2 separate regions of the Homo sapiens genome follow, and region 1 is linked to region 2. The links are contacts of gene promoters, found by promoter capture Hi-C in human tissues and cell types (Jung and others, 2019). All regions are on one chromosome and are shown on one strand. Each heading gives the region's core, a stretch centred on a gene start or on the middle of the fragment in contact. The rest is flanking DNA. Distances are from core to core; before and after follow the strand shown. Region 1 holds the start of ZNF274 (zinc finger protein 274). Region 2 holds the start of ZIM3 (zinc finger imprinted 3).

Region 1 (6,968 bases), core at 2,543-5,042, 1.0 Mb after region 2:
TGGCCTCCCAAAGTGCTGGGATTACAGGCGTGAGCCACTGCGCCCGGCCATATGTTGTTTAATTTAAACCAACAGTAGACCATTGATTTAAAAAAGCATATGGGGCCAGGGGCAGTGGCTCACTCCTGTAATCCCAGCACTTTGGGAGGCCAAAATGGGCAGATCACCTGAGGTCAGAAGTTCGAAACTAGCCTGACCAACATGGTGAAACCCTGTCTCTACTAAAAATATAAAAATTAGCTGGGCGTCGTGGCATCTGCCTGTAATCTCAGCTATTAGGGAGAATGACGCAGGAGAACCGCTAGAACCCGGGAGGCAGAGGCGGAGGTTGCAGTGCCATTGCACTCCAGCCTGGGCAACAAGAGCAAAACTCCATCTCAAAAAAAAAAAGCACATGGAAAAATATTAATATATTTAAATAACTCAGTATCTCAATAAACCTATGCCTGACTATGTGGAATATATATATATTTGAGATGGAGCCCCCTTTAGTAGAGACGGGGTTTCACCATGTTGGCCAGGTTGGTCTCGAACTCCTGACCTCAGGTGATCCACCCACCTCAGCCTCCCAAAGTGCTGGGATTACAGGTGTGAGCCACCGCACCTGGCCCTATGCAGACTATATTAAGAGAGAAAAAGTAAAAATTAAACTTTGCAATTGAATGAAATAACTACTATTTCTACAACACACATTTTCACTTATGATCCATAATGCCTTCTATGTAATTCAAAATTCCAGATATTTTCTAACAGAAAATTTCTCCCTGTTATGAGTCTGCAAAATTTATATGAACAAGGCTATTTATATTTTGTCTCTCTTCCACCTAGTGTAAATCTTCTTGTATTTTGCTACAGATATACTCATGTGTTTGATGGCAGGTGCTACCCCACACCTCTTAGGGATTTACACACTGTATGGTGTAAATACATTACCATCCTACTAAAATCCAAATGATCATGAATTCCAAAATACATCTGGCTCAGAAGGTTTTGAACAAGCAATCGAGGCACTGTCTAAATCCAACAACGATGAATAAATTTTTTCAACATTTTACATGTTTAATAGTTAACATTTCTTCAGAAGTCATTTTTATTTTACAAATTACAATAAACAGCATATTTAATTTGCTAAACAGGAAAAGAGTATGCAGTTATTAAAAGTTGAATTAAAATGGCTCTCATAAATCAATCTTCAATAATATGCTTATATAAAACCATCTTTAGGTTGGGCACAGTGGCTCAAGCCTGTAATCCCAGCACTTTGCGGGGCCGAGGTGGGCGGATCCTCTGAGGTCAGGAGTTCGAGACCAGCCTGGCCAACATGGCAAATCCCCATCTCTACTAAAAATACAAAAATTAGCCGGGCATGGTGGCACGCCCGGCTACTCAGGAGGCTGAGGCAGGGAGAATCACTTGAACCCGGGAGGCAGAGGTTGCAGTTGAGCCGAAATCACGCCATTGCACTCCAGCCTGAGCGAAAGAGCGAGACTCTGTCTCAAAACAAAAAAAAAAAAACAAAACATCTTTGGTCAGGCATGGTGGCTCACGCCTGCAATCCCAGCACTTTGGGAGGCCAAGGCGGGAGGATTGCTTGAGTCCAGGAGTTCAAGACCAGCCCTGACAACACACTGAGACCTCATCTCTACACAAATATTTATTAAAAATTAGCCAGGTGTGGTGATGCACACCAGTAGTCAGTCCTAGCTACTTGGAAAGCTGAGATGGGAGGAACACTTGAGCCCAGGAGGTTGGGCCAGCAGTAAGCCATGACTGCAGCACTGCTCTCCAGCCTGGGCAACAGAACAAGACCCTGTCTCAAAAACAAATTCTTTTAATCAAAAATCAGGTTTTATCCTATACCACATAAATAGAAAGAAATCATTAGAAGAATTTCCACCTGCCTGGGCAACATAGTGAGGTTTCTGTCTCTACAAAAAAGTACAAAAGAGGCCAGGCGGGGTGGCTCATGCCTATAATCTCAGCACTTTGGGAGGCTGAGGTGGGCAGACTGCCTGAGGTCAGGAGTTCGAGACCAGGCTGGCTAACATGGAGAAACCCCGTCTCTACTACAAATACAAAAATTAGCCAGGCATGGTGGCACACACCTGTAGTCCAAGCTACTTGGGCAGCTGAGGCAGGAAAATCGCTTGAACCCAGGAAGCAGAGGTTGCAGTGAGCCGAGATTGTGCCACCTCACTCCAGCCTGGGCGACAGAGCAAGACTCTGTCTCCAAAAAAAAAAAAGCCAGGTGTGGTGGTGTGCACCTGTCCCAGCTATTTGAGAGGCTAAGGTGGGCGGATCACTTGGGCCCAGGAGGTGGAGGCTGCAGTAAGCTGTGATCGCACCAATGCATTCCAGTCGGGGTGACAGAGCAAGACCCTGTCTCAAGAAAAAAAAAAAGAAAGAAAAAAAAGAATTTCCAAGGGGGTTTGCTTCCTTGTGATTATGAAGGGCTAGACGTATCCTATTCAAATCCAGAACAAAACAAGACTATTAGTAAACATGACTACTTAACATAGCTCTGTCATACTAGCTAGGACTATACAATGTTAATTTTTTAAAGTTGAAATATGGAAAAAGAAGATATCAAATTACTTATTAATTGGGGATGGTGTTGTATCTATAATAGACACGAAAAATCCAATGAAATATTATTAGACTATAAGATATCTGCACAGTCTCTGAGTAAATACTCCTATGCCAAAATCAACACACTAACAGCAACAATTAAACAATGTGTAGCCTGAGGTTGGATCCTCCACAGTGACCAAAAAAACCAACAACCCGTGGAACAAGTTTAGCAGGCAGTGTACACGACCACCAGAGGGAGGCAGAGGGCTGCTGAGACCTGCCAGGAAATATCAAGAAAGAGGACACAGGGTCCTGAGCACTGAGAGAGATCATTAGGGCCCTCAGGTCCCAAGAAGACAAGACCATACTGGGACCTGGGACCTAAGGAAGATAAGAAAACACCAGATGTCGGTCCTTGAGGAAGCCAAGAGAATACCTCCTTGTCCTGAGCTCCCAAGGAAGATGAGAGCACCCTGGGCCCAAGGATGGGTGGCACACACCAGGTCCTGGACAGCTACAGACTTAGGTTTCCTCTCCCTAGACATGAGCACCTCAGCTTCCAGGAGCAAACTGGACCACAGGGGGACACTAGGCAGAGGATCCTGCTCCTCCTCCCCAATGCCTGGGGTACAGTTAGCCCTGATCATCTCTCCAGAACTAGGGTAGACGTTTGGCCTCATTCCCATCACACTTGTGGTCCACCTAGTCTTCCCTCCTTCCCCTTGCACACCCCTGACCTTCCTACTCCCTTCCTCTAATCCCCAGAACTAGGGTGGACGTTTGGCCACGTTCCCATCACACTTCCGGTCCTCCGAGTTTCCCTCCCCTCCCTGACCTTGAGTGGACACTTGGCCCTGTCCACCCTCACTTTCAGGCAGGACCCATCTCCCAGAAACATAAGTGCCGTCAGTCCCAACTCCTGCACACTTCCGGCTCTCCCAGTCCTCCCCTTCTTTCTCGACTTTGAAACTGGTGGAACTTCAGTACCTCTCCCCACTCCCCCCGCGACTTCCGTCTTCCAGTCCCCCTCCTTCCCCAAAAGTTGCGTGGACTCTAGCCCCGCCTCCTACATTCTCCCCGCCCTCCCTGTCCCCGCCCCTCCACCCAGATGGACGGCCAGTTAGGCCCGCCCCCTGCACTTCCGGCCCTACCCGCCCTTCCTCTTCCCAAGGGACGTCATAATTAATCCCGCCCCCACCGCCACCCAACCAAGCATCACCCATTCCAGCACTTCCGGCCTGACCCCTGTCCAGCGCCTTTCCTTTCTCCAGCTTCTGCTCTGCCCCAAGAGTGGTCGCCTTCGTGGCAGGGCACGACTCTCTCCCAGCTCGGGTCGCCGCCCACATTAGTGTGGGGCCCTGCGGCCTAGCGTCCCTCACCAGAGGCCTCCCCTTGCCTAGCTGGACCGCCGAGGGACATCGACGAGTATCCTCCTCCTGCTGTCCCCGGCTTCGCCTGCCGCCCCTAACCGGCCAGTCAAGATGGCCGCCGCTGGGTGAGGCAAGCTGGCGCGCCGCGGGGGCGTCTGGGAGTTGTAGTTCGGGACGGCGGGCTGACGCACTTCGCCGCCGGCCGACGGGCGCCATTGTGCGGCGCGCGCCGGGTGAGTGCCGCGCGAAACCTGCGTCCGTCGGGGGCTGCGCTGGGCGGGTCCAGAACCGTTAGTTGGGGGCGAGCGCGGCCTCTGCATTTTCCGCCGAGCTCGGGTACCCTGAGCCGGCCGTGCCTGCAGTCCTCCCGCCGCTCTGTGGGATGGGGTCGGTGACCCGGAACCCCGAGGGGAGACAGTGCTTTCGGGGCGCCGCGGTGGAGAGAACAGATCGCCTCCGGAAGCGTGGGGTCTGGGCCAGGGAGGCGATCCCCTCCGATGCGCGGGACAGAGGAGGCTCGGTGTCCTCTCGGGGAGGGGAAAACTGGTCCTATCCAGTCCTGTGGGAGTCCTATGACTCACTCTGGGCGTTTTCCAGTTTGGGTGGACTTGTCATTTCCCGCTGAGGGAGCCGTTCCTGGGCGGAGGCTGCGGTAGCTCCCCAGCGGACACCTTAAGCCTCTCCCTCCCCTCCCAACTTCGGTTTCCTCAGGACTCTGCCCACTTCCACCAGAGACACATTGAGAAGGAGGAAACTATGGCCTCCAGGCTTCCGACGGCCTGGTCCTGTGTGAGTAGAGGCTTCCTTCAGCTTTTGAGTCCGCTACTGCACCTGGGAGGATGCGGATGGTGGTGAGATACCACCTTCCCTGAGATACCCCCATCCTCCAGAGCACCTCGGGGAGGGGGTAGAGATTGGTTGGGCATGAGAGATCCTGCGTGATGGTGGAACCGCAGGTTGCTTGGTTTTCCAAGGGTGTAGTTAGAATAGAGACCAGATTGTAGGGGCTTCTGAAGGCCAGGTTAAGGCTCTTGCTTGTATCCTTTATATTGGGAAGAGTAATTGACAGGTCTTTTGTTTGTTTGTTTTTTGTTTTTTGAGATGGAGTCTCCCTCTGTCGCCCAGGCTGGAGTGCAGTGGCGCGATCTTGGCTCACTGCAACCTCCGCCTCCTGGGTTCAAGTGATTCTCCTGCCTCAGCCTCCCCGAGTAGCTGGGACTACAGGCGTGTGCCACCATACCCAGCTAATTTTTTTTTTATTTTTATTTTTTGTGTGTGTTTTTTGTGGAGACGGGGTTTCACCATGTTGGCCAGGCTGGTCTGGAACTCTTGACCTAAGGTGATCCGACCATCTCGGCCTCCCAAAGGTCTATGCAGGGATCAGGCTTATGTTTAGATTTCAGCAGATAAATTGGCATCAAGCAAGAGGTGACAGCAGCAGAGTTCAATAACAAGTAGAAAAGACAGGTGAGGATGGATCCCTGACAGGTGAAGGAGATAGAAAGAAGCATCAGGGCCCTGGGTAGGGGCTGACGGCTTGGGTGTGATGGTGCAGCTCAGAGAATTCCCTAGGAGGCATACGCACCACTCCCAAAGTCAGAATTTTCAAATGAATAAGAAATAGGGGGCCGGGCGCGGTGGCTCACGTCTGTAATCCCAGCACTTTGGGAGGCCGAGGCAGGTGGATCACGAGGTCAGGAGATTGAGACCATCCTGGCTAACATAGTGAAACCCCGTCTCTACTTAAAAAAATACAAAAAATTAGCCGGGCGTGGTGGCGGGCGCCTGTAGTCCCAGCTACTCGGGAGGCTGAGGCAGGAGAATGGCGTGAACCGGGGAGGCGGAGCTTGCAGTGAGCCGAGATGGCGCCACTGCACTCCAGCCTGGGCGACAGAGAGAGACTCCGTCTCAAAAAAAAAAGAAAAGAAAAATAGGGCCGGGTGCGGTGGCTCACATGTGTAATCCCAGCACTTTGGGAGGCCGAGGCAGGCAGATCACAAGGTCAGGAGTTCGAGACCAGCTTGACCAACATGGTGAAACCCCATCTCTACTAAAAATACAAAAATTAGCCGGGCATGGTGGTATGCGCCTGTAATCCCAGCTACTCAGGAGGCTGAGGCAGGAGAATCGCTTGAACCTGGGAGGTGGAGGCTGCAGTGAGCCAAGATTGCGCCACTGCACTCCACTAGGAGACAGAGTGAGACTCTGTCTCAAAACAATAAATAAATAAATTAAATAAATAAATAAATAAATAAAATGGACAGATTTTCATATGCTACAGAGATCTCATGTGTTGCTCTCCTTATTGTAACCTGAATAGAGTCAAGCTTGGGTTTGCTTGGGGTTTCAGACAAAGACAGGAACTCAGGATGAGACTCCCAAAATGCCCTTGGGTCATCTTGTAGACCATTCTGTGCTTTCACTGGCCTGGTCAGCCTCCCCTGTCTTTCTTTTGTCGTGGATGCGGATGGCCTGTGGCTGAACAAGAATCTGGATTTTTAGGAACCAGTGACCTTTGAAGATGTAACACTGGGTTTTACCCCGGAAGAGTGGGGACTGCTGGACCTCAAACAGAAGTCCCTGTACAGGGAAGTGATGCTGGAGAACTACAGGAACCTGGTCTCAGTGGGTAAGGCTGGCCTCCAGGTCAAGAAGGATCTGTGCTTTGTAGCACAAATGTAGCACCTCTGAAGTATGTGTCTGCTTGGGCTCACACTGCAGGGGCACCAGTAGGAAAAGGGCAGCTTTTCAGTATGACTTCTGAATCATTGCCTAGTCCATCCCTCCCTGAATACCAGGGAGATGGGTCTGTCAGGGATGTTTTCAGCTGCAGTAGTGGATGCTTATTGTTCTTGCAACAAGAGTTCCGGCCAGGCATGGTGGCTCACTTTAGGAGACTGAAGCAGGAGGATTGCTTGAGCCCAGGAGTTTGAGACCAGCATGGGCAACATAGACCGTGTCTCTATTAAAAAAAAAAAAAAAAAGAAACTCCACAGAAATTCCAGACAATGCGATGCCAGTGTCCCA
Region 2 (7,213 bases), core at 4,714-7,213:
AATCACTTGAACCCAGGAGGTGGAGGCTGCAGTGAGCCAAGATTGCGCCACTGCACTCCAGCCAGGGCAACAAGAGCAAAACTCTGTCTCAAGAAAAAAAAGAAAAAGAAAAAGAAAAGAAAAGAAAATGTTATTATATTTTTTTTCTATTTTCCATTTTTCTTTAAGACATCCTGCCTCTATTAGAAATTCTTTTTTAAATAGAGGCCTGGCATGGTGGCTCACACCTATAATCCCAGCACTTCAGGAGGCTGAGACAGGTGGATCACCCGGGGTCAGGAGTTCGAGACCAGCCTCGTCAACATGGTGAAACCCCATCTCTACTAAAAATACAAAAATTAGCCAGGTGTCGTGGTGCGCGCCTGTAATCCCAGCTACTCAGGAGGCTGAGGCAGGAGAATCGCTTGAACCCTGGGAGGTGGAGGTTGCAGTGAGCTGAGATCACACCACTGCACTCCAGCCTGGGTGACAGTGAGACTCCATCTCAAATAAATAAATACATAAATAAGTAGAATAAGCCAATAGCCCCCTAATTCTTCCAGCTACATCTAAACTGACTGTAATCTATTTTCCACAGTCGACATTCAGACTGGATGGTGCGCTCCCCTAATTTATCAGCTTTCCTTGCATTTGGGAGAAACAGGTGACACCTGTTACAGGGGCCAGCGTCTGGCATGTCTACCACACTCCCACTCACACAGGGTCACACAGCACTCCCCTGGGTCTCTCCTGCAGCCATACTGGACTTACGGCAGCATTTTGCCCCTGCCACTCAACACTCACAGTGTTGGAAGTCACACTTGTAAAGCGAATTCCTTTGTCAGAAACTGAAAATCTCACCTCTAAGAGCCAGCACCTAGTGTCCTCTTGGACAGATAAATTTTTTAGTTGTGTTTGTGCTCTAGCTCGCTTTTTTAAAATTTTGTTTATTTATTAATTTTTTTTGGCGGGGAAGGGGACAGAGGCTCACTCTGGTAGCCCAGGCTGGAGTGCAGTGGCACAATCTCGGCTCACTGCAACCTCCACCTCCTGGGTTCAAGCGATTCTCCTGCCTCAGCCTCCTGAGCAGCTGGGATTACAGGCGCGCACCACGACACCTGGCTAATTTTTGTACTTTTAGTAGAGACGGGTTTCACCATGTTGGCCAGGTTGGTCTCAAACTCCTGACCTCAAGTGATCTGCCCGCATCGGCCTCCCGAAGAGCTGGGATTAAAGGGATGAGCCACCGCACCCGGCCTTTTTTTTTAAATTTTTGACACAGGTTCTTGCTCTGCCACCCAGGCTGGAGTACAGTGGCATGATCATGGCTCACTGCAGCCTCAACCTCCCAGGATCAAGCAATCCTCCTACCTCAGCCTCCAGAATAGCTGGGACTACAGGCATGCACCACCATGCTAAGCTCATTTTTTATTATTTGTAGACAGGGTCTCACTATATTGTCCAGGCTGGTCTTGAACTCCTGGCCTCAAGTGGTCTTCCTGCCTTCGCCTCCCAAAGTGCTGGGATTACAGGTGTGAGCCACCACACCCAGCCTTAGTATGCCTTTCCTGTCAACAGGAAATTGGTCAACAGGCTTAATTTTAACAATTGCAAAGAAACTACTATCTGCCTAACTGCATACAACTTATCCTTGGTCTTTCAGCTATCCATAATTTACTTTGATTCCGACTGGTACTAGTTAATGATTTTTCAGTTTATTGTGTGGATTTACAGAATTTGTTTCAAATACACACCGAACAAAGTTGGGAGAGGACACACATTCAAGACACCAATCATTTAAAAAATAGGTTGGGGTGAAACACACATGACACTGTTACATCTCAGGGCTTAGCAGTGGACCAGGTTTGTAAGAGCAATGGTCAAAAGATGCTTGAGGCTGGGCGTGGTGGCTCACCCTTGTAATCCCAGAACTTTGGGAGGCTGAGGCGGGTGGATCACCTGAGGTCAGGAGTTCGAGACCAGCCCGACCAATATGGTAAAACCCCATCTCTACTAAAAATACAAAAATTAGCCGGGCGTGGGCGTGGTGGCGTGCGCCTGTAATCCCAGCTGCTCAGGAGGTTGAGGCAGGAGAATCGCTTGAACCTGGGAGGTGGAGGTTGCAGTGAGCCAAGATCAAGCCATTGCACTCCAGCCTGGGTGGCAGAGGGAGACTGTCTCAAAAAAAAAAAAAAAAAAAAAAACAACAAAACAAAGATGCTTGAGCTGAAACCAGCCCAGTAATCCCATAGACAGTTGTGGGTTTTTTGTTTTTTGTTTTTGTTTTTGTTTTTGTTTTTTGGATAAACATAGAAATTGACCCTTCCGCTGTTAAAGCTTGAAACCTGTATTTGTTTTGTCTGAGTTCCTTCCTCAGGAAAAGACCTTCAGATCTCTCAAAGGCAGGCAGATCACCTGAGGTCAAGATTTCGAGGCCAGCCTGGCCAACATGGTGAAGCCCCGTCTCTACCAAAAAATACAAAAATTAGCCAGGAGTGGTGGTGCGCACACCTGTAATCCCAGCAACTCAGGAGGCTGAGGAAGGAGAATCGCTTGAACCTGGGAGGCAGAGGTTGCAGTGAGCTGAGATTGCACCACTATACTCCAGCCTGGGTGACACAGCGAGACTCCCTCAAAAAAAAAAAATCAACTGAAACTCACCACAACTGAAACTCACCACAACAGATGTCTCCTTGCCCCCTCCCTAGTCTTGCTTTCTTACACATTGTTATATTTCTTCCATGCTGTATAAACCCCTAGTTTTAGTGAGTTAGGGAGATGGATTTGAGGCTGAGCTCCCATTTCTTCACCTACGGCAGCTGATTAAAGCTTCTTCCTTGGCAATACCCATTGTCTCAGTCATTGGCTTTCTGTGCAGCCAGTAGCAGGACCTAGACCAAACTCCTGGTGTTTCCGTAACCAAGCTTTTTTTTTTTTTTTTTTTGAGACAGGGTCATGCTCTGTCACCCAGGCTGGAGTGCAGTGGCACAATCATGGCTCACTGCAGCCTCAACCTCCCAGGTTCAAGCGATTCTCCCACCTCCGCCTCCAGAGTAGCTGAGACTACAGGTGTACGCCACCACCACCACACCCAGCTAATTTTTTGTAGAGACGGGATCTCGCCATGTTGCCCAGGCTGGTTTCAAACTCCTGAACTCAAGCGATCCGCCTGCCTTGGCCTCCTAGATTGCTGAATTACAGGTGTGAGCCACCATGCCCAGCCTTGAGCTTTACTTGAAATGTTTCAGCTTTAATAGGAAAGCAGAAAGTAGAGTGTGTGTTACCTTTTAATAGAAGTATGGAAGGAAGGAGGAAAATATGCCAAAAGGTTAGCACAGTTAATTCTGAGCAAGAGGAACGTGGGTCATACGTTTATTCATTATGAGATTTAGATTTTTTTGAAAAGCTCACCTGGGAATTGTTCATTTCCTGTTCTTCACCAGTCAGTAAAGTCTTGGGAAGGCAGATCTGAGGGAAAATGGAAAAGAACCATGAAATAGCAGAATTCGCTTTGGAAGTTGGGGATCATCCAGCATAGAATGCTCCACACCCTGGATAAAAGCTCTCCCTAACCCACTCAGAAAAGCCCTGACTTGTACCTCAGTGATCCCCTTCTGAAGGTCTTTTTTTTTTTTGTTTTGGTTTTTTTGTGTTTGTTTATTTATTGAGACTGGGTCTCAAAGAAGAAAGTGCAAGCCAGGCACGGTGGCTCACGCCTGTAATCCCAGCACTTTGGGAGGCTGAAGCAGGCAGATCACCAGAGGTCAGGAGTTCGAGACCAGCCTGTCCAACATGGTGAAACCCCGTCTCTACTAAAAATACAAAATTGGCTGGGCGCGGTGACTCATGCCTGTAATGCCAGCACTTTGGGAGGCCGAGGCAGGCGGATCACGAGGTCAGGAGATCAAGACCATCCTGGCCAACACGGTGAAACCCTGTCTCTACTAAAAATACAAAAACAAAATTAGCCAGGCGTGGTGGCGGGCGCCTGTAGTCCCAGCTACTCGGGAGGCTGAGGCAGGAGAATGGCGGGAACCCGGGAGGCGGAGCTTGCAGTGAGCCGAGATCGCGCCACCGCACTCCAGCCTGGGCGACAGAGCGAGACTCCGTCCCAAAAAAAAAAAAAAAGAGAGAGAGAGAAAGCTAAACAGCAGTTCAACAGCACCTTTAAAACAAGCCTGTGCAAAGACAATGAGGCAAGCATCAGATCAGCTAGAGCACAGTAAGGAAGGCCGAGAGCAGAAACCATGAATCCTGAAGCAGCTGTGGTCGTGACGAATAACGCCGCAGTGAACATGGGATGCAGATAGCCCTTCAGCTTTGCCATAAGCGGGACAGCTGGATCATTGGTAATTCTTTGCCAAAAGCGTAGATTTTGGCCACGCGTGGCAGCTCACACCTATAATCCCAGCACTTTGGAAAGCCAAGGTGGGAGGATCAGTTGAGCCCAGGAGTTACTTTTTTTTTTTTTTTTTTAAGACCAAGTCTTGCTCTGTCGCCCAGGCTGGAGTGCAGTGGCACAGTCTCGGCTCACTGCAACCTCTGCCTCCCGGGTTCAAGGGATTCCCCTGCCTCAGCCTCCCGTGTAGCTGGGATTACAGGCATGCACCACCATGCCCAGCTAATTTTTGCATTTTTAGTAGAGACAAGGTTTTACCATGTTGTTCAGGCTGGTCTCGAGCTGCTGATCTCAAGTGATCCGCCGGCCTCAGCCTCCCAAAGTGCTGGGATTATAGGCGTGAACCACCACATCCAGCCAAGCCCAGGAGTTTGAGACCAGCCTGTGCAACATAGTGAAACCTCTGTCTCAATGTTTAAGTAATAAAGTTTTTATTTTTTATTTTATTTTATTGAGGCAGGGTCTCATTCTGTCACCCAGGCTGGAGTGCAGTGATGTGATCCCGGCTCACAGCAGTTTAAAAATCCCTGGCTCAAGCAATCCTCCTACCTTGGCCTCCTGAATAGTTAAGACTATGGGTGCATGCTACCACATCAGCTAACTTTTTATTTTTTGTAAAGAAGGGATCTTGCTATGTCACCTAAACTGGTCTCAAACTCCTAGGCTCAAGCAATCCTCCTCCCTCAGCCTCCCCAAATCCTGGGATTACATGCATGAGCCACCACACCAGCCAGGAATAAAGTTTTAAATAAGTAAATATGTTTTTAAAAAGAATAAACTTGCCGGGCACAACTTTAATGTTTATTAAAGTTTGAGGAGTCCAATTCTAGCACAAAAAATATATATAATTTTAAAAAACAGTAAATTGTAAATGCTTTCACCACAAAAATAGATTAATTAGCTTGATTTAATCATCCCCCCAATGTAAACATGTATCAAAACATCACATTGTACCCCATAAATAAACACAATTATTATTTGTCAATAAAAAGTTTTTAGAAGTAGCTGTGGGCCAGCAGTAATGCTAAGGACTGGAGGGCCACGAAAATAATTTTGAGTGTCCTGGGAGCATCACTTTTCAATATGACAACTAAAAAAAAAATCTAAACTACCAATGTAAAATATTTAGCTTATTCCAGCAAATAGGAGAGGTAGAAAAATGAAACTAAGTAAAAATGCAAAACAAACAAACAAACAAAACCCAGACATTTGGTTTTCAGGGAGAAAAAAAAATCAGCTTACCTCCAGTGGAATCTGGCATAAATTAGCAAGTTGATTGATTTCTGATGCCTGTGGTCTTTTCTTCTGAAAGGGACTGAAAATGAAAAGGCGTGTATACTGAAAAGCTACACTAATGACTAAAACTTAATCGGCCCTCTACCCGCTGTATTCCGCATCATAATCCAGTCAAGAAACAACCCAAAACACTCACTTCCTATCAAAAGCCCCACCTGATCCTATCAGGCCACATCAAAATTTCAATTCCCAATTCTTTCCTCGACTTCTCCAAAACTGAATGAACTCTCATAAAAATTGTGATTGTGAAAGCTTAATTTTCAAATCTGCCCAATCAGTTTCCAATGGAATTTTTTTTAAGTTCATGCAAGTAAAAATTTTTTACCTTAACTTTGAAATAGAAAGCATGGAAAACATTATCCAAATGTCAGAGGATGAAAATAAATTAAAACAACAAAAATTGGCTGGGCACGGTGGCTCATGCCTGTAATCCCAGCACTTTGGGAGGACAGGAGTTCAAGACCAGCCTGGCCAACATGGGGAAACCCCGTCTCTACTAAAAATACAAAAATTAGCTGGTCATGGTGGCACGTGCCTGTAATCCCAGCTACTTGGGAGGCTGAGGCAGGAGAATCGCTTGAACCCGGGAGACGGAGGCTTCAGTGAGCCAAGATCGTGCCACTGCACTCCAGCCTGGGCAATGAGCGAGACTCCATCTCACGTCTCAAAAAAAAAAAAAGAAAGGAAAAGAAAAAAGAAATAGGGCCAGCGGAGGTGGAACAATGCCTTAAAGTGCTCTCCGCCCGACAGAAAGAATTCAGGCTCCAACCTCCAACTGGCAAAATCTCTTCAGCTGTACTAATACTCTCAAAATGAGATCAACATGCCAATCCATCCCCACCCTAGTCTGGGTGTTGAATTTAAACACAGGCTACATGCCCTTGCCTGCAGACATGGAGACCTTCCAAAATTGAGCGTCCAACTGAATTCCAAGAGATTAAACCAGACTTCATGGGACAGGATGCACCAGACTAGACCTCCTCCCAGGAGAAGAGGTATCCAAAGATCGTATTAGCAAATGACCCTTGGCGGTGTGCGGTGGCTCAAGCCTGTAATCCCAACACTTTGGGAGACTGAGGCAGACAGATCACCTGAGGTCAGGAGTTCAAGACCAGCCTGGTCAACATGGTGAAATCCTGTCTCTACTAAAAATACAAAAATTAGCTGGGCATGGTGGTACACACCTGTAGTCCCAGCTACTCAGCTACTCAAGAGGCTGAGGCAGAATTGCTTGAACCCAAAACACAGAGGTTGCTGTGAGCTGAGATCATGCCACTGCACTCCAGCCTGGGCGACAGAGGGAGACTCCATCTCAAAAAAAAAAAAAAGAAAAAAAAAGCAAAATGACCCAGCCAGCCTGAATCCCAGCCGCCGTGTCGGACTACTATAGTCCCAGATACTTGGAAGGCTGAGGTGGGAGGATCAATTGAGCCCAAGAGGTCAAGGCTGCAGTGAGCAAGGATCTTGCCACTGCATTCCAGCCTGAGAGACAGAGCAAGCCTGCAGGTGAACGGAAAGGGGTGGAGTGATTTTATATAT

The links. Contacts are between HindIII fragments. The study calls those that stand out against the background at their distance.
Region 1: a contact is called between the fragment with the promoter of ZNF274 here and the fragment with the promoter of ZIM3 in region 2, in 1 of the 25 tissues and cell types used here (small bowel).

The regions. Positions count from the first base shown.
Region 1 is chr19:58,179,269-58,186,236 of GRCh38, forward strand. It overlaps ZNF274 (zinc finger protein 274), which reads left to right and starts at 3,793. Exons shown (of 8, transcript NM_133502.3): 1 at 3,793-4,174; 2 at 4,653-4,730; 3 at 6,444-6,570. The coding sequence starts at 4,698. RefSeq lists enhancers at 3,404-4,117, 3,786-4,205, 4,118-4,829, 4,456-4,645. The HindIII fragment of the contact is 17,090 bases long and covers 1-6,853 here.
Region 2 is chr19:57,139,239-57,146,451 of GRCh38, forward strand. ZIM3 (zinc finger imprinted 3) reads right to left here and starts at 5,964. Exons shown (of 5, transcript NM_052882.1): 1 at 5,621-5,964; 2 at 3,391-3,447. The coding sequence starts at 3,405. The HindIII fragment of the contact is 26,155 bases long and covers 4,415-7,213 here.